Linked DNA regions of Homo sapiens: regions 1, 2, 3, 4, 6 and 7 are each linked to region 5. Evidence: promoter capture Hi-C in 16 types of primary human blood cells and fetal thymus (Javierre and others, 2016). All regions are on one chromosome and are shown on one strand. The core of a region is centred on a gene start or on the middle of the fragment in contact, and the rest is flanking DNA. Distances in the headings are between cores, read along the strand shown.

Region 1 (2,700 bases), core at 57-2,556, 400 kb before region 5:
GTAGTTGAGAACCTAATAATGTCCTTTCTAGATATTTTTTCCTGGTCCAGAATGGTAATACTTTGATACTTCATAAAATTGGCTCCAATACAATATAGTTTGTAGGTTGTTAAGGAATTGAAGGTTAAGGAATTGTGCTCTATTTCTTCAGCTAAGGGTATGGTCTTTGCTAACTACATGCTGTGGTCAGCATATAGCTGTGGTTTTTTTTGTTGTTTGGTTTTTTTTTCTGGCTGTTGATCTGACTTTTTTTTTTTGGCGTGGGAATGTCCTGGAGTGTGAACAAGATTAGTTTAAAAAGTTCCCTATGACTTGAAGATGTTAGATTAAATGAAAAACTTAAATAATGTAACCTAGCTCTTAAGCATTAATACTGGAGTTTTTGTCATTGACATCAGATGTCTTTAATACAATGGTAATTAAGGAAAGGAGTGGTAAATATTTTGTGGGCTACTGAAGGAAATTATATAGACAAATTCTTTATTCTGTGAAATACTGGAATAACAATAGGATGTATTTGTATAGATATGTTATTTTGAATTTTTTTCCTTCATGTTATTAAAAGGTATCTTTTTAAACTGTCTTTCATTATGGCTTTATGTATGTGACATTCACAGAAGTTAGAATTCTAGTGATTGTGCTTATATATATGACATTGTTAATGTTACTTGTCATAAACCAGCAGCATTATACCATGAAGTATGCCAAAAGCTGTAAATGGCTGGTGGGGGAAGATAAGTAAGTAGGAAGAACAGATTCCCAGTAAAATAAAGGAATAATACATTACATTTGCTTTATTTACTATCCGTTGTGAGCTTCTGCTCAAGTAATTTGACTAGCAGTAAAAATTACAATGCCCAAGGTAACTTAGTAAATTTAGGTCAATATCCAAAAACGGGGGGGAGCATGGTAACAGATCTCTTAAGTAGTGATGATAATGAGCCATCAGGTAACAGACTAGTAGTTTTCAGAGTTTTGATTATTTTGAGTTAGGTTTCCAGATAACAGTGAAGCCGTGGGAAAGGGTCCATTCTCCAGAAGAAAAAACAGCTGTCAGGTAACCAGCTAGGTAGTTGGGGCTTAGAGTAGGAGTGGGATCCCAATGGGGAAATGGAATATTATTTTAAAAATCAAGTCCAAAGTCCAGTCATACCACCTGGGGGAACTGTGTACCTACTGATTGATTATTCCTAATATGAAAACCCGAAATGCTCTAAAATCTGAAATTTTTGCACACCAACATGACATTCAAAGGAGGAGTGTTCATTGGAACATTTTGGATTTTGGATTTTTAGATTTGGCATGCTAAACCAGTTTGTATCTTTCCAAAATCTGAAAAAAAAAAAAAAATCCGAAACACTTCTGGTCGCAAGGATTTCATATAACAGATACTCCATCTATATGTGGTTTGGAGAGTAGACTTGTTAATTGAATGTATAGGTAACGAGTGGGTACCTGCATTCTTTTCTTTTCTCTAATTAGAATCATGACTAATTCTACACTATTGTCAGTAGTGGAGTGGTGATTTTTTTTTTTTTTTTTTTTTTGAGACGGAGTCTCGCTCTGTCTCCCAGGCTGGAGTGCAGTGGCGTGATCTCGGCTCACCGCAAGCTCCGCCTCCCGAGTTCACGCCATTCTCCTGCATCAGCCTCCTGAGTAGCTGGGACTACAGGCGCCCGCCACCGCACCCTGCTAATTTTTTAGAGATGGGATTTCACCGTCTTAGCCATGATGGTCTCAATCTCTTGACCTTGTGATCCACCTGCCTCGGCCTCCCAAAGTGCTGGGATTACAGGCGTGAGCCACCGTGCCCGGCCGTGGAGTGGTGATTTTATGATTGTTTGGCTCTAAAACTAATTCGGACTGAGCCTTTAGGTTTATGTCTTTAGTATTTCAACTTAAATGGAGCAAAGATCTAGTTAAATTTTAAAATGGAAGTTAAACCAACTAAAAATTCTACTTCTGCCAAAAAACGGCATAAGCAAAGTGAAAACAGCAAAATGGGAGAAAATATGTTTGCATAAATGGGTAATATTTCTTTTCCTTTTTTACTTTAATTTTTTTTTCAAAAGGGAAGACAGGGAGAATTTTAGCCTTCCTTTCCCTTTCCCTTTGACTTTGCCTTTCCATTCCCTTTCCTTTCCTTTGACAGAGTCTTCCTCTGAGGCTGGAGTGCAGTGGCACGATCATAACTCACTACCGCCTCAATCTCCCAGGCTCAAGTGATCCTCCTACCTCAGACTGCTGAGTAGCTGGGACTACAGGCGCACACCACTATGCCTGGCTCATTTTTAAAATTTTTATTAGAGTTGAGGTCTCGCTGTGTTCCCCAGGCAGACTGGTCTCGAACTCCTGAGCTCAAGTGATCCTCCAACCACAGGTCACAAAGTGCTGGGATTATGTGGTATAGGCATGAGCCACTACACCTGGCTGATAATATTTCTAACATACTGAAGACTCATATTAGTAAGATAAACAGTGAGAATTCACAGAAGTTCTCAGTTGGTAATTTTTAAAAGAAAGACTTTTTTTTTTTTTTTTGAGATGAAGCCTTGCTCTGTCGCCCAGGCTGGAGTGCAGTGGTGTGATCTTGGCTCATTGCAACCTCCACCTCTTGGGTTCAAGCGATTCTCCTGCCTCAGCCTCCCAGGCAGCTGGGACTACAGGCATACGCCACCATGCCCGGCTAATTTTTGTATT
Region 2 (2,700 bases), core at 25-2,524, 380 kb before region 5:
TTTAACTATTATATTAAAATAAAAATATGTGATATATATACATTTAGAGAATTAGATAACCAACTGTCATGTGCCTACTATACAGTTTTTTAAACTTTTTTATTTTAAAATAATTATAAATTAAATTCCTATAAATCATAGGAAGTTGCAAAACTAGTACAGAGAGGTCCTCCTATATAAACTTCACTCAGCTTCCTCCAGTCACCATTCAGTTTAACAAGTGTCCTGGGTTAGTTCAGATGTTAATGTCTTGGGCTGGGTTATGGAACCGTACAGGGAGTGTGGATGTGGATTCTATACCCCTACCTGGTGTAAGCCTGGAGTTTTGATTCTCATAGGTACCTCCTTCCCTGCCTCCACTAGGAGCAGGGCAGATGCAAGCTTCTTTGCTGTTTCTCAGAACGTATGGGTGGAGCTTTTCCAGCTCCTTCTTACATATTGGGCAGCTCTTTTCAGGATTTTGGCTCAAAATAGGGATTTGACTTGTAGCCCTCCCCTGAAATAAGCACAAAGATGGATCTTCTGGCTCTATAGAACCAAGATACCCTTATAGACTGCCTTGGTGTCAGCTGAGGTGACATCTCTCTGGCTTTGAGTTTCTTCCTTTCTGGCACCAGGAATTTCCTTTCCCAGCTTTTCTCTCCCTTTTGGAGTTCTGCTGTATATTCTGATTTTTTCATGTTGATCTAGCATTTCAGTGATACCGTTTGGTCACATGGATGTATTAGTCCAGTCTGCCTTGTTGCTTGAATAAGAAGTCCAATAAAGTATTCTTTTTTCTAATAAAATATTTATTAATTGTATTCTGTGCTTTGTTCCACAAAATGATTTGAGGTTGGATTATATTATTCTCTGTTTAAAAATATTATTATTATTATTACTAGTATTTGAGACAGAGTCTCGCTCTGTTGCCCAGGCTGGAGTGTAGTGGCGTGATCTTGGGTCACTGCAACCTCCGCCTCCCGGGTTCAAGCGATTCTCCTGCCTCAGCCTTCTGAGTAGCTGGGATTACAGGCGCGTGCCATCACACCTGGCTAATTTTTGTATTTTTAGTAGAAATGGGATTTCACCATGTTGGTCAGGCTGGTCTCAAACTCCTGACCTTGCGATCCGCCCACCTCAGCCTCCCAAAGTGCTGGGATTATAGGCTGGAGCCACCTCACCCGGCCAAAAATATTATTTATTTTTAAAATGGGTAATATATACATGTGGTCTAAAATTAGAAAGATAAAAAAAAGAGTATGCTTTTTCTTTTCCCTATTACCCTAGCCACCCCACTCCAATGTCTCTTTATAGATACAACCAGTTACCAGTTTCTTACGCATCCTTCTAGAGGTTAACAATGCACTAGTTTATTGGGTTTTTTTCTTTTTTTCTTTTCTCTTTTTAGATGGAGTGTCGCTCTGTCGCCCAGGCTGGAGTGCAGTGGCGCAATCTCGGCTCACTGCAAGCTCCACCTCCCAGGTTCACGCCATTCTTCTGCCTCAGCCTCCCGAGTAGCTGGGACTACAGGCACCCACCACCACACCCGGCTAATTTTTTTAATTTTTTTTTTTTTTTTTTTTTTTAGTAGAGACAGGGTTTCACCATGTTAGCCAGGATGGTCTCGATCTCCTGACCTTGTGATCCGCCCGCCTCGGCCTCCCAAAGTGCTGGAATTACAGGCGTGAGCCACTGCGCCCGGCCAACAATGCTCTAGTTTATTCTTTAACAGAAGTTTTAAACTTTAGTGTTTATAATTTAATTTTGTAGCTGATATTCAGGATTTTTCCATCTGTTTGAGAAGTAGTATTTTCTTTTGCTTGAGAGCTTTTGACTACAGCTTTACACTGGTTATGTGTTACATGTATGTCTTTATATATGTGAATGCATTATCTGTGTTTTAATTTTTGTTCACAAACTCCTCAGAATGTGACAGAATAAACTGTTGATTAGGATGTTTTAAGTTATGTGGAATATTAAAATGAAACAGTAGCTCTTTTTTAATTTTTAACTGACACATAATAACTATACATATTTATGGGATACAGGGTGATATTTGAATACATGTATATCATGTATAGTGATCAAATCAGAGTAACTGGCATATCCATCATCTCAAATCATTGATCATTTCTTAGTGTTGAGAACATACAAAATCCCCTATTAAAACTAATGGAAAGCTTCATGAATTTGAATGTCATTTTTGGGCAGGAGCCATGCTAATCTTCTCTGTATTGTTCCAGTTTTAGTATATGTGCTGCGGAAGTGAGCACTGGCCCTAATTTTTAGGAGGTAGTGGAAATGATATTTTAAGATACTAGAAATCTTATTGAAACACGTTGTAGCTATCCTTAAAAACTGTGGCCGGGTGCAGTGGCTCATGCCTGTAATCCTAGCACTTTGGGAGGCCGAGGTGGGTGGATAACCTAAGGTCAGGAGTTCGAGACCAGCCTGACCAACATGGAGAAACCCCGTCTCTAATAAAAATATACAAAATTAGCCGGGCGTGGTGGCGTATGCCTGTAATCCCAGCTACTTGGGAGGCTTAGGCAGGAGAATCACTTGAACCCAGGAGGCGGAGGTTGCAGTGAGCCAAAATCGCGCACTTGCACTCCAGTCTGGGCAACAAGAGCGAAACTCCCATCTTAAAAAAAAAAAAATTGCCCTGATTACTAACCAATCCATGCCATTGTTTGCATATGTGCAAATAACTGCCCA
Region 3 (2,700 bases), core at 147-2,646, 360 kb before region 5:
CCTTTTACAACGCTGCTTTGCTTTTTAAAGACTTGTTTTATACTTAGGTGTAAGTGTAAAATATTCCACTTAAACCTATTTCACTTCTCAAGTTTCCTGTGTTAATACTGCCAGCATTCTCTACATCACTGAATCTCAATACTGTGGCATTGTCTGATTACCCTAGTTAGAAATTTCTCCTCCCTCTGAACTTTTATGGTCCCTTCTGGTTCTCTTTCCTTTATAGTTACTTATATACTGATCTTAGCTTGTCTGCTAGATAGTAAGCTCCTTGAGGGTAAGATAATAATATTGGGCATTTATGTATGTGTGAGGCACTGTGTTAGTACTTTACATTAACTCTTTAATCCCTTTTTGGATTCATCTTTTCATCCTTGTATCTTGACAGCACTAAGTTGTATCTTATACGTACTTACGTATGTTAGGTAGGAGGTACATATTTGTTGGATTAATAGTTCATTTTTTTTTCCCACTTGGATTTTGGGAATTATTGCAGTCTTTCTTATTGGTACTAATTAGGTATCACTATACTTAGAATTGTTAAATCTGAATCTTATGTAAGTAGGCTTTGATATAATGTATAAATTAATAAATATATTCAAGCTGGGCGCGGTAGCTCACATCTATAATCCCAGCACTTTGGGAGGCTGAGGAGGGCAGATCACCTCAGGTCGGGAGTTCTAGACCAGCCTGACCAACATGGTGAAACCCCGTCTCTACTAAAAATACAAAAATTAGCCGTGCGTAGTGGCCGGCACCTGTAGTCCCAGCTACATGGGAGGCTGAGGCAGGAGAATTACTTGAACCGGGGAGGTGGAGGTTACAGTGAGCCGGAATCGCCCCATTGCACTCCAGCCTGGGTGACAGAGCAAGACTCCGTCTCAAAAATATATATATATATATTCGTAGTATAGTTAGACACGAATTCTTATTTTTTTTTTTTAAACCTCTGTGTGCTAGGCGCTGCTCTCTGTATGGCATAAAAGCTGGGTTTTTACACTACTGTACAGAGTATTCTCAGCCTCAAACCAGCGTCTGGCTAGTTTTGACAGTGTGGAGCAATGGTGACCCATGGTCCTTAGGATGACTGCTCAGGGACAATTTCTAGTGATTCCTGCAGTTTTGATAAATTATAATGAAAGGTAGATTGATTTCTTTCTAAAGAGAACGTTACTTTCAGAGAAAGCCGGGAACTCTTTCAGGGTTAGTTCAAGCAAGGAAATCTAGTTTTGGATTTTTCAGTCCCCCTTAACTCTCAATATCTGGTTCTGAATTGCAGCTTATTCTCCCCTCTTTCATTAATAGTGTGATAATATGCTTATAGTTTGCATTCCTCTGATGGTCAATATCTTGTGTAAGTATGGAGGAAACCAGTAAGCCAAAACCACCAGAGTCTCAGGTCAGTTTTAAGTCCAAATTCAGATCTTACATATACTCCAATTTTCCTTGATGTTGTTGATTATAAACAAACCACGCAGAAAATCCTGAACTACTTAAAAGTTTCTTAAGCCTTACACTGCAGTTATTCAAAGCCATTCATATCTTCTATTAAGGCTATAGCTATATTTTTCACCTTTTTAGTTTTTCTGCTTTTATTGGTAAGAAGTTAATCTTGGCCTGGCACGGTGGCTCACGCCTGTAATCCCAGCACTTTGGGAGGCTGAGGCGGGCAGATCATGAGGTCAAGAGATCGAGACCATCCTGGCCAACATGGTGAAACCCCGTCTCTACTAAAAATACAAAAATTAGCCAGGCATGGTGGCGCGCTCTTGTAATTCCAGCTACTCTGGAGGCTGAGGCAGGAGAATCGCTTGAACCTGGGAGGCGGAGGTTGCAGTGAGTCGAGATCACACCACTGCACTCCTGCCTGGCAAAAGAGCGAGACTCCATCTAAAAAAAAAAAAAAAAGTTAATCTGAAGCGAAGATATTTTGAGATATTCTCAATTGATTATTTGTCCTCAATTAGAAAAATGTTCCTTCAAGTCATTTTAAATGTAAAAAAATCTACTTGTATTCTAATGTAGTATAGTCTAATTATTATAGTATACATGGTTATTGTTTTCTTATATGTATTTTTAGGGTGCCAAAGTAACTTGGTTTTCTTTATCATTTCTTTTTGAAGGTGGAGTTTCCACTTGATACATAGTAAATTCTATTTTTAATATGTAAAATAAGGTCAAACTTTAAATGTTTGGAAACATGAACTGTATTAGAGCTGAAGTTTTTCTATCACAGTTTTTAGAGCTTTTATGAAACTAGCTTAATTGGAAAAAATATATACTGTTTTTTGTAGACATTAATTCATTGTGTAGTGAGAAGGTCCTGTATTAATCAATCTGCTCCAGCTGCCATAACAAAATACCATAGACTGTGGCTTAAAGAGCAGAAATTAATTTTCTCACAGTCCTGGAGGCTGGAAAGCCCAAGATCGAGGTCTGGCAGTGTTCAGTTTCTGGTGAAGGCTCACTTCCTGGCTTGCAGATGTCCTCACATGGCCTTGAGTGTGTGGTGGGTGGAGGGAGCAGAAGCTCTCTGATGTCTTTTCTTAAAAGGGCACAAACCATGTCATGTCAGGGCCCCACCCTATGACCTCATTTAACCTTTGTTACTTCCTTAGAGGCCCCATCTACAAATACACATTGGGAGTTAGGGCTTCAGCATACGAATTTTGTGCCACAAACATTCAGTCCATAACAGGG
Region 4 (2,700 bases), core at 3-2,502, 420 kb before region 5:
TATCCGTTAGGTCCATTTGTTCTAGAGTGTAGTTTTAAATCCATTTTTTTCTTTGCCGACTTTCTGTCTTGATGATCTGTCTAATGCTGCGAGTGGAGTGTTGAAGTGCCCCACTATCATTGTGTTGCTGTCTATCTCATTTCTTAGGTCCAGTAGTAAATGTTTTATGAATCTTAGAGCTCCAGTATTGGTACATATGAATTTAGGATTGTAATATCTTCTTGTTGGATTGATCCTTTTATCATTATATAATTATCTTCTTTGTCCTTTTTTTTTTTTTTTTTACTGTTGTTGCTATTTACTTATTTATTTATTGAGACAGGGTCTGGCTTTATTGCTCAGGCAGGAGTAGAGTGGGATGATCACAGCTCACTGCAGCCTGAACCTACGACACACAAGTGATTGTCCCACTTCAGCCTCCTCATTAGCTGGGATTGCAGGCACACACCACCACACCAGGCTAATTTTTAAATTTTTTCATAGAGACAGGGTCTTGCTGTGTTGCCTAGGCTGGTCTTGAACTCCTGGGTTCAAGGGATCCTCCTGCCTCAGCCTCCCAAAGGGCTGAGATTGCAGGTGTGAACTGCCACACCTGGCTGTTGTTGCTTTAAAGTCTATCTTATCTGATAGAAGAATAGCTACTCCTGCTTGCTTTGGGTTTCCATTTGCATGGAATATCTTTATCCACTCCTTTACCTTGAGTTTATCTGAATCTTTATGTGTTATATAAGTCCCTTGAAGACAACAGATATTTGGTTTGCAATTTTTAGACCCATTCTGCCAATCTGTATCTTTTAAGTGAAGCATTTAGGCTGTTTACATTCAACATTAATATTGAGATTTGAGGCTGGGTATGGTGGTGGCTCACACCTATAATGCTAGCACTTTGGGAAGCTGAGGTGGAAGAATTACTTGAGCCCAGGAATTCCAGAGCAGCCTGGGCAACATGGCGAAACCCCATCTCTACAAAAAATACACACACACACACACACACACACACACACACACACAAACTTAACTGGGTGTGATGGTGCACACCTATAGTCCCAGCTACTCAGGAGGCTGAGGTGGGAAGCCCACTTGAGCCCAGGAGGTGGAGGTTACAGTGAGCCAAGATTGTACCACTGCACTCCAGCCCAGGTGACAGAGCAAGACCCTGTCCCCTCCCTGCAAAAAACAAAAAAACCCAAAAAGGCCATGCCTGCAATCCCAGCACTTTGGGAGGCTGAGGCGGGCAGATCACGAGGTCAAGAGATGGAGACCATCCTGGCCAACATGGGGAAACCCCGTCTCCACTAAAAATACAAAAATTAGCTGAGCATGGTGGCAGGCACCTGTAATCCAAGCTACTCGGGAGGCTGAGGCAGAAAATTGCTTGAACCAGGGAGTCAGAGGTTGCGGTAAGCCGAGATTGTGCCAATGTACTCTAGCCTGGCGCCAGAGTGAGACTCCATCTCAAAAAAAAAAAGAGAGATGTGAGGTACTGTTCCAGTCATCATGTTATTTGTTACCTAGATACTTTGTTTTATTCACTGTGTTATTGTTTTATATGCCCCATGAGTTTTATGCCATCAAGAGGTTCTACTCTAGTGCATATCAGCCTTTTGTTTCAGGATTTAGAACAGCTTTTAGCATTTCTTGTTGGGCTGGTCTGGTAGTGACAAGTTCCCTAAGCATTTGTTTGTCTGAAAATGATTTTATTTCTCCTTTATTTATGAAACTTAGTTTTGCTACATACAAAATCGTTGGCTAGGTTGGGCGTGGTGGCTCATGCCTGTAATCCTAGCACTTTGGGAGGCCAAGATGGGAGATGACTTGAGCTCAGGAGTTCAAGAGCAGCCTGGGCAGCATGGTGAAGCCCCATCTGTACAAAAAATACAAAAATTAGCCATGTGTGGTGGGATGCACTGAAGTGGGAGGGTCACCTGAGCCCAGGGAGGTTGAGGTTGCAGTGAGCCATGATCGTGCCATTCCACTCCAGCCTGGGCAAGAGAGTGAGACCCTGCCTTAAAAAAAAATTCTTAATGGGCCGGGCTTGGTGGCCCATGCCTGTAATCCCAGCACTTTGGGAGGCCGAGGTGGGTGGATCACAAGGTCAGGAGATCGAGAACATCCTGGCTAATACGGTGAAACCCCGTCTCTACTAAAAATACAAATATTAGCTGGGTGTGGTGGCGGGTGCCTGTAGTCCCAGTTACTGGGGAGGCTGAGGCAGGAGAATGGCGTGAACCCAGGAGGTGGAGCTTGCAGTGAGCCGAGATGGTGCCACTGCACTCCAGCCTGGGTGACAAAGCAAGACTCCCTCTCAAAAAAAAATTCTTGCTGGGCGTGGTGGCTCACGCCTGTAATCCCAACACTTTGGGAGGCTGAGGTGGGTGGATCATGAGGTCAGGAGTTCGAGACCAGTCTGGTCAACATAGTGAAATCCCGCCTCTACTAAAAATACAAAATTAGCAGGGCATGGTGGTGCATGCCTGTAATCCCAGCTACTTTTGAGGCTGAGGCAAGATAATCACATGAACCCAGGAGGCAGAGGTTGCAGTGAGCCGAGATCGTGCCACTGTACTCCAGCCTGGGCGACAGAGCGAGACTCTGTCTAAAATAATAATAATAATAATAATAATTCTTGGCTGACTGTTACTCAGTTTAAGGAGGCTGAAGATAGGATCCCAATCCCTTCTGGCTTGTAAGGTTTCTGCT
Region 5 (2,700 bases), core at 201-2,700:
TAAATTCATTGTGTTTAATGTTCAAGTTTACATAAGTGAAATCACAGGCTTTGTTTCAGTAAATAAACGTGTCAGAAATCTTACTGTTTATTATCTGTGCTTATGAAAAATATTGCCTGCTCATCCTAAATCAGTGATACTGATTTCTTTATAAAAACAAACATTGTGTGCATAAATAGGTGAAGAATTTGAGTTCAGAGAATGAATGGAAAAAATACAAATCTACTTTTGCTGTGAAGACTACTGACTAGCTTTTATAACTGAAAATAAAATGTGTACTTTACCTGTCAAGATTTAAAGTTCCTGTGTATATAAACTCCAACAGTTTCTGAAATCCATCAGCCTTCACCTGACTCTGATCAAGAAAGACATTGTTCTCAGAAGTGCTTCTGTAGATCGCACCAAAATACTCACTAAAGGAGGCCAGCACATTCCTATGAGCTTTAAACTGGAATTCCCCAATCACTATGGTACAGTCACAGAGAAAACCTGCTTCCCGCTGTTTGTTCAGTCTCTCTAAAAGGTGCTCACAGTGGTGCGAATACTGCATTTTGATATCAGAATGGAATTTTACCCTTGATCTAAAAGACAAAAAGAAACAGTAAATCAGTAACCGTAAGTTCTCATCAACGTTCAGTGAGGGAAGGGACAGAGGACATAACTTAAACAATTTTAGCCCCCTTGAAAATCCTTATCAAACATACATGGTTAAGAATGAAGGGATGAGTGCCTTTCTATCTTTGGTTACCTTGATCAACTAACACAATCCTTTGGACACATCAATAAGTGACGGTGAATGGCAACACTTCTACCACCTGCAAAAAGCACAGCAAAACCTGACGCTTTCACATCTGTTGAACCCTCAGATTTTCAAGCTCAGTAGACATACTTATGTTACAAAAAAATTTTTTAAACCACTAAGACATGATCTCTTGGGACAGATAGGGGCAGAACAGTACGAGTTTTTAAAAACTGCTCTCAAGTCACCAAAACCTGTTAGTTTCCCCAGTGCAGTTTCTCCAAAACGAGAGGTGGCTGCCCAGAAAGCCGGGAATGCGCCCGGCCATGGCTTGCTGTCAAAGGTTCTATCACTCGCGCTAAGGAGGCCACACCTTCTCCCTTCCCACTCTCTACGCGAGGCGGCATCCGAGAGTGACAACCAAAGCCAGTCCCTCCTCGGCTTCTGCCGCCCTGCCCTCTGCCCAGCTCCCACTCCCGCGAATTTCCACAGCAGAGGTTGTGGCCCAGGCCACCCCGGGGCTGCCTAGCCCAAGCCTTCCACCTGCGCCCCGACCCGTGCTGGAACTCCAAGGAGCCTGCCCTCTGATGGCCCAGGCTCTAGAGAGACCGGGATGGCGGGCTGGGGGTGAAGTAGGAACTCACCGATAGCAACCCAAGGGGGGAACACAGTTTCTTCACTCTGTCTCCGCCATCTTGGGAGGACGTCACCGAGCCACGCTCCGCCCCTCCCTTCCTTCCACGGTGGCGTCACGTCCGGCTCTGTCTTCCCGTGGCAGTGCGGGAGGTTCTGGGGCCATGGGGGTCCGGCGCCGGCCAGGGCGGTACAGGATGTACCACAGAGACCCACTCCCCAGCATGCCAGGGGTCCCCCGAAGCAGCAGGCGTCATGGATACGAGAGCTGAGGGCTCGCTAGCTCGCAGCGCTCCGCCTGTCTTCCTCATCGCGAGCATTCTGGTGCCGGCAGTCAGCGTCTGGCGCTCTGCCGGGGCTCTGCGCCGAGGCCCGGCAGCACAGCACCGCGGGCCTCTCTCCTGAAGCCAGCTGCGCACTGCGTGCGGGGGCTTGTAGTTGCTTGTCTTCTCCCATCATCCTCCCCTTCCTCGGGGCCCCACCGGTGGAAACTGCTGCATGTGTACTCGGATCTCTGCCATAGGGGATTTTTTAGCTGAGACTTGGCACCCCTTTCCCGCTTACGTACCTGAAAACTCTTGGCACCCCCTGGTTTTTTTGTGCCCCAGCCAACTGTAGCTCAGCTTCCAAGATGCCCTTACCTGGTGACAGAAGTCTGGGATGCACGAAAGCGGAGCAGCTGGGCACAGTGGGCATGCGCAACATTAGAGGAAGGTGGGCTTTATACCGGAAAAGGTTTTCCTGCGTCTGGACCAGAAGATTTTTAATACGATTATTTACAGCCACTTCAGACGAAAAACCAAGTGATATAATACAAAAATGCTCAGGAGGCGACAGGACTAACCACTTTTACACTTTGATCTTTCCTTCTAGGCTGTACATTATTTTTTCAGTGTTAGCTGGTGAGTCAAATTCATTTTTTAAAACCCGGGACACATGTTCCACGTGGCAAGGCTTCCATAAAAACATTTGGTGAACGAATAAAGTAACAAAAACTTACAGTTCAGACTCTCAAATTGCTATCATGTCTTTTGAAGGACCGGCATACATTAAGCTAAGGCTTCCCTCAGAAAAAAAAACAAAACAAACAACAAAAGAAAACAAAGCGTGATCTCACGCTTTCTTCCAAGCGAAGGAAAAAAAAAAAAAAAAAAAAAGGGATTTTTTAGTGTGTTTCCGCCCGGTTTCGAACCGGGGACCTTTCGCGTGTTAGGCGAACGTGATAACCACTACACTACGGAAACCCCACTTTGGAGAGGGTTTTGTAAAGTCCTTGATATGTAAGTGTCAATTCGCAATTCTCAAGTGATTATTATCAAATTGAGAGG
Region 6 (2,700 bases), core at 129-2,628, 310 kb before region 5:
TTTTTCTTTAAGCTTATGAGACATGGGGAATCCTCTGTGTAAACAAAACAAAAAGCTTAGTGAGGTTTGAAATGGTTTTAAAAATCTCCTGATTTAAAATCTGCAAAGAGTGTAAGCAAGTCTTTACTGATTAATTTCAATATATTTAAACATATTTCAGTCCCATATTTGGCCAACAACTAGAAGGCAATATATTTAGAGGAAAAAGTAATAGAAGGAAAGAGGGGGCCGGGTTTAAGAAGAGTTCTAAACTGTTTAAACACACCCTGATGTTGTCTTGAACATAGGATTATTTGTCCTAAACTTTCGATATAGTTGGCTGTCTATATGCATTTGGTTTTTATAGAATGTGATTTTTATTCCTATTATTTATTATTTTCTCAAGTATATATATATTTTAACATTGTACCACCCATTATATTGGTTATTATTTCTCTTCCCTGCCATGTCTTCTGTTAACAGATCTGATCATAGAGAGGTGGACATATGATTGAAGTCAGGTTGAACAGTCATTCCCCGGGACTGTATATTTGAAGAAGTTAGGAGATGCTTTAAGTAAGTGTAATTAATTATGAAAGCCCTGAGCTGCTGGCAGCCAGAACACCCACTTTGTGGACACAAAATGGAAACCGACAACTCAGAGAGATTCTCCTAGTAGTTTACTAAGTAAGTTCTTGCCAATATCCAGCTTGTTCTTAGAATGGCTCAGGTTGAGTTTGTATTACCTGCTACTCAAAGAATTCTTGACTGACTCTCCAGGAGCATTTCCCAACTTGTCTTTATAGATGCTTAATTAATTAATTTTAGCTAATTAAAGAGACTTGTGTGCTCAAGTAAATGGTTTTCTTCTTCTTCATTATAGCACTATAAAGCCTTAAGGTGTTCATGGGCGTTGTACATTTTCAAGTGAAAAATAAATAATAATAATTAAGAAACAACATTCTTCACATTTGACTCTGAAACCATTCTTTTCTTTTTGAGAAGTCAGTGGCACCAATGAAAGGCAATGTAATACAGTGGTAAAGAGCAAGAACTGTGGACCAGAATTCTGGGTTTGCATCCCAGCTTCCCCAATGTCTGTCTAGTTGTATCATAGTGAGTTTCTTACTTTCAATGTTTAAATTTCCTCATCTGTAAGAAGGGGATAATAGTTCCTGTCAGAGTTGCTATAAGGATTAAATCAGTTGCTGCATGTAAAACAAACACTTAAGACGGTACCTGGCACACAGGACACATTTCTTAAATCTTTTTGCCATTATTAGTGTTCCATAGCGCTTGTTTTAGGACATTTTTTCAAATAACAGAAAGTAATCCATTTGTGGATCATCAACTCAATTTAGTGGATAAAAACCAGCATTTAAAAAATGACACTAAAAAACATATTTGCATGATATGTAAGGGTAAGTATTGTTATACTTGTATGTACATGTACATGTTATACATGTTATGTAAGGGTAAGTATGTTACTTGTATGTACACATAAACGTACATACAAGTCTATAGGTCATGATGTTAAAAAATATATCTTACTATAAATATCAAAAAAAATCAAAAGCCACCAATTTAGGAAAAGCTAGGTTTAGATTTATGCAATATAGTATTTTTAAATGGTGATAAAAAATATCTATGTAGCTTAATTCCTAAAGTAATGTAAGATGATGATCCTGCCACTCATATTGTTTTACTCCAGTGAAGCAACTCTGCCTATCCACCGGGGGAGATTTGGCAATGTCTGGAGACATTTTTTATTGTGTCTACTGGGCATGGAGGTGCCACCAATCAGTCAGTGGGCAGAGAGCAGGGATCCTGCTAAACTGCCCCACAACAAAAAATTAACCAACCCCAAATGTCAAGCGTGCCGAGGATGAGAAATTCTACTTTTACGTGTGATACATCATTGCTAACGTGATTATGATGTGATATGCAAGTATGTGATGACATACAAGTTTTATAATATGAAAACGAATCTGCTGAATCATCGAAAGGGACCTAGTCACTGCTCCCAGTTCCATAAGGTGAGCAACCAAAACCCTCTTCTTCCAGGAATATTTGCATTAAAAACAGAGATATACTTTTTAAAATTAATTAGCTACATTTAAAATGAGGTAATCTTCTTCTTCCTCTTACATTGAACTTTATGCCAAATCATTTTAAGAACAATTTTTACTTTCTTGCTTTCATTTGAACATTTAATAAAAATGTTTAGGTTGATATCTTAAAGTTGTCAGTGAAATCTCAGATTTACATAACAGTTTGCATCCAGTAGTTTTTTTGAGTAACACAAACATCAGTATAGCCAAATGTTAACTCTTATCACTTTTTGTGTTAATAACAAAGTAATATTTGTAATATAGTGTCCCTGAATAACTATAAAAACTTCTTGGAATTATTTTGTTTTTAAAATAAAACACTATTTAATAACTGGTATCATAGCCCTTCAAAAGACACATTCTGAAATGCTATCAGTCAGGGGGCAAAAGTTGTTTTAGTTCAGTTTATTTTTTAATATGTCCTGAGTTCTTTCTGTTCATAAAATTATGATCTTATGACAGCTGTAACTTTTAATTAATAATATTAACAAATCATTATTGATATAGGCTTTTCAATTTGCTCAAGATTAGGAATTGTAAGTGGAATGAAGCAGCACTTCCAGTTGACAAATGGATCCAAAGGTAATCCAATGTCTTTTAAATTAAGCTT
Region 7 (2,700 bases), core at 1-2,500, 460 kb before region 5:
CTGCACTCCAGCCTGGATGATAAAGTGAGATTCTGTTTAAAAAAAAAAAAGTTTAAGTATAGATACCCATCAGAGACTCAATGAAGGAGTTATGCTTTATCAACTACCACTCCTTAAGTTCCAGGAACTAAAACATTCAAGGGAGTTTTATATAAACACTTAGCTCTCAGTAATTGCGAAACCACTATGTTCATAACATTCCACAATCACCAGATCCTTGTTACAGTACCAAAGCTAAAAATGAACTGCAAAATAAAGATATTACATTCTAAAGGTATAAAACAAATTATGCACGTATGATGTTTTTTCCAGTTTAACTTCAGCACTAGCATAAATTATTTTACCACTGATCCTCAACAGAATATAATCTGCTTTATCACAAAGATTCCCAAAATGGCAAATTTAGATATGGTTTTAGCTGAATTTTTTTAAGCATTTTTTATTTTGCTATTGAGCTTCAGAAGACAAACTGCTTTCAATGTGCCTATATTCTAAAATATAGAATCTATTATAAAGTTTTTCCTTAGGACTAATTGCTTTTAAAAATAAACCCCCAAAAGAATCACATTCAGTCCTTCTGCTACCTCAGTGTAAGCTTTTCTTCTAAATTAGGCTATTCGAAAAAATACTTTTATTTGCAATAACCATTATAATAATTGGTTTAGGCAGGATTATCCATGAATGGTAAGACCATTGGGCAAAATGTTTTGGGGGACTAGAGTATTCATATAATCTCAAAGTATCACCCCCCAAATTATTAATTATAAAAAAGGTCATAAAGCAATTTCCACCTTTTAATAATGAAGAAGATAGTGAATTCAAAAATAACAATTGTGAAATATGAATGTAACAATAAAGTAAAAAAGCAATGTTATAAAGCCCTGTCAATGTAGTAAGGGGAAAAGAGAAATCTCTTTGAAGTTCAAGGTCCAGTTTTGGCTGGGCAAGGTGGCTCGTGCCTGTAATCCCACCTACTCAGGATGCTGAGGCGGGAGGATCACCTCAGGAGTTCAAGGCCAGCCTCAGTGACAGAACAAGACCCTGTCTCTAAAAAAAATTTTTTTGTAATTAGCCAAGCATAGCGTAGTCCCAGCTACTCACGAGAATCATTTGAGCCCAGGAGTTCAAGGCTGCAGTGAGCCATGATCGAGCCATTGGACTTCAGCTTGGGCGACAGAGCAAGACTCTGTCTCTAAAAAAAAAAACACACCCAGCTTTGTATTGTGGGTTAGTAAGTCTCAATGTTATCTGAAAAATGGAGATAATCATATCTGCCTCTGAGTATTATCATGAAGACTAAATAAGTGCAGCTTGAGCCCAGGAAGTTGAGGCTGCAGTGAGCTGTGACTATGTCATTGCACTCTAGCCTGGGTGATGGAGGAAGACACTGACTCAAAAAATGAAAAATAAATGAAAATAAATGAGTGCAGCCAGGCAAGGTGGCTCATGCCATAATCCCAGCACTTTGAAAGGCCAATGTGGGAGGATCGCTTCGGTACAGGAGTTCGAGGCCTGCCTGGGCAACACAGGGAGACCTTGTCTCTACAAAAAAATTAAAAATTAGCCAGACATAGTGGTGTGTGCCTACAGTCCCAACTACTTGGGAGGCTGAGGTAGGAGGACTGCGTGAGCCTGGGCAGTTAAGGCTGCAGTGAGCTGTGATTACACCACTGTACTCAGCCTGGGTGACAGAGTAGAAATGTGCCTCAAAAAAAAAAAAAGTGCAAAATACTTATCATGGTTCTTTTTCTTTTGTTCCACTTTTTTCAGTTGAGTTTTTTTTGAGACAGAGTCTCGCTCTGTCACCCAGGTTGAAGTGCAGTGGCACAATTACAGGCGTGAGCCACCACACTCGGCCTCAGTAACATTTCTGAATAACACTAACTTTAATTCTTTAAAAGCTTTTTTCTTTAATTGACAGAAATTTTTCTATTATATTTCACTAAGATAAGAGATTATTACTATAATTCAATACTGTCTAGAAAATTCTAGCCTATGGCTAAAAATAAATAAGGCTGGGCGCAGTGGCTCACACCTGTAATCCTAGCACTTTGGGAGGCCAAGGTGGGTGGATTACCTGAGGTCAGGCGTTCGAGACCAGTCTGGCCAACATGGCGAATCCCCATCTCTACTAAAACTACAAAAATTAGCCAGGTGTGGTGGTGCACGCCTGTAATCCTAGCTACTCAGGAGGCTGAGGCAGGAGAATCACTTGAACTTGGGACGCGGAGGTTGCAGTGAGCCGAGATCACGCCACTACACTCCAGCCTGGGCGACAGAGTGAGACTCTGTCTCAAAAAACATAAAATAAATAATAAATAAATAAATAAGATATAGAAAAGAAGAGGCAAAATTGCTACTTGCAGATGACATTATCTAGCTTAAAAATTCTAAGACAGTTAAATTATTAGTAAGGTGGAAAGTTTAATTTAAACATACAAAAAGAAAACAGTATGTAATAGGTCTACAAGAAGACCCCATTCACAAAAGCACATGATTATAAAATATATAGGAATAGGCCGGGCACGGTGGCTCAAGCCTGTAATCTCAACACTCCGGGAGGCCGAGGCAGATGGATCACCTGAGGTAAGGAGTTCCAGACCAGCCTGGCCAACATGGTGAAACCCCATTTTCACTAAAAATACAAAAATTAGCCAGGCATGGTAGCGCCTTGCCTGTAATCCCAGCTACTTGAGAGAC

What was found. Contacts are between HindIII fragments. The CHiCAGO score rates a contact against its expected background, and 5 or more counts as called.
Region 1: a fragment that was not itself captured here is called in contact with the fragment with the promoter of MYNN in region 5 in 12 of 17 cell types (fetal thymus, naive CD4 T cells, total B cells and 9 more); the score reaches 9.7 in fetal thymus.
Region 2: a fragment that was not itself captured here is called in contact with the fragment with the promoter of MYNN in region 5 in 13 of 17 cell types (total B cells, naive B cells, naive CD4 T cells and 10 more); the score reaches 12.1 in total B cells.
Region 3: a fragment that was not itself captured here is called in contact with the fragment with the promoter of MYNN in region 5 in 5 of 17 cell types (total B cells, non-activated CD4 T cells, neutrophils and 2 more); the score reaches 8.5 in total B cells.
Region 4: a fragment that was not itself captured here is called in contact with the fragment with the promoter of MYNN in region 5 in 7 of 17 cell types (non-activated CD4 T cells, fetal thymus, activated CD4 T cells and 4 more); the score reaches 7.8 in non-activated CD4 T cells.
Region 6: a contact is called between a fragment that was not itself captured here and the fragment with the promoter of MYNN in region 5, in 11 of 17 cell types (naive B cells, total B cells, total CD8 T cells and 8 more). The highest score is 10.0, in naive B cells.
Region 7: a contact is called between a fragment that was not itself captured here and the fragment with the promoter of MYNN in region 5, in 1 of 17 cell types (non-activated CD4 T cells). The highest score is 5.6, in non-activated CD4 T cells.

Annotation. Positions count from the first base shown.
Region 1 is chr3:170,167,601-170,170,300 of GRCh38, reverse strand. The region is part of intron 4 of PHC3 (polyhomeotic homolog 3); the gene reads left to right. Among named protein-coding and RNA genes, the nearest start is that of PHC3, 13 kb to the left of the region's middle. The HindIII fragment of the contact is 5,194 bases long and covers 1-2,700 here.
Region 2 is chr3:170,149,400-170,152,099 of GRCh38, reverse strand. The region is part of intron 4 of PHC3 (polyhomeotic homolog 3); the gene reads left to right. It also overlaps the pseudogene RNU6-315P. Among named protein-coding and RNA genes, the nearest start is that of PHC3, 31 kb to the left of the region's middle. The HindIII fragment of the contact is 1,781 bases long and covers 384-2,164 here.
Region 3 is chr3:170,132,391-170,135,090 of GRCh38, reverse strand. All of the region lies in intron 7 of PHC3 (polyhomeotic homolog 3), which reads left to right. Among named protein-coding and RNA genes, the nearest start is that of PHC3, 48 kb to the left of the region's middle. The HindIII fragment of the contact is 4,408 bases long and covers 1-2,700 here.
Region 4 is chr3:170,191,383-170,194,082 of GRCh38, reverse strand. No RefSeq gene overlaps it. Among named protein-coding and RNA genes, the nearest start is that of PHC3, 11 kb to the right of the region's middle. The HindIII fragment of the contact is 3,214 bases long and covers 1-2,700 here.
Region 5 is chr3:169,772,146-169,774,845 of GRCh38, reverse strand. MYNN (myoneurin) reads right to left here and starts at 1,450. Exons shown (of 8, transcript NM_018657.5): 1 at 1,384-1,450; 2 at 285-581. The coding sequence starts at 550. It overlaps TRV-AAC1-1 (tRNA-Val (anticodon AAC) 1-1), which reads right to left and starts at 2,616; the gene lies at 2,544-2,616. RefSeq lists enhancers at 1,351-1,645, 1,284-1,787, 1,361-1,910. The HindIII fragment of the contact is 7,916 bases long and covers 1-2,700 here.
Region 6 is chr3:170,084,864-170,087,563 of GRCh38, reverse strand. It overlaps GPR160 (G protein-coupled receptor 160), which reads right to left. Exons shown (of 4, transcript NM_014373.3): 4 at 2,172-2,700. The coding sequence ends at 2,575. Among named protein-coding and RNA genes, the nearest start is that of GPR160, 48 kb to the right of the region's middle. The HindIII fragment of the contact is 2,642 bases long and covers 58-2,699 here.
Region 7 is chr3:170,231,078-170,233,777 of GRCh38, reverse strand. All of the region lies in intron 1 of PRKCI (protein kinase C iota), which reads right to left. Among named protein-coding and RNA genes, the nearest start is that of PRKCI, 10 kb to the right of the region's middle. The HindIII fragment of the contact is 1,306 bases long and covers 598-1,903 here.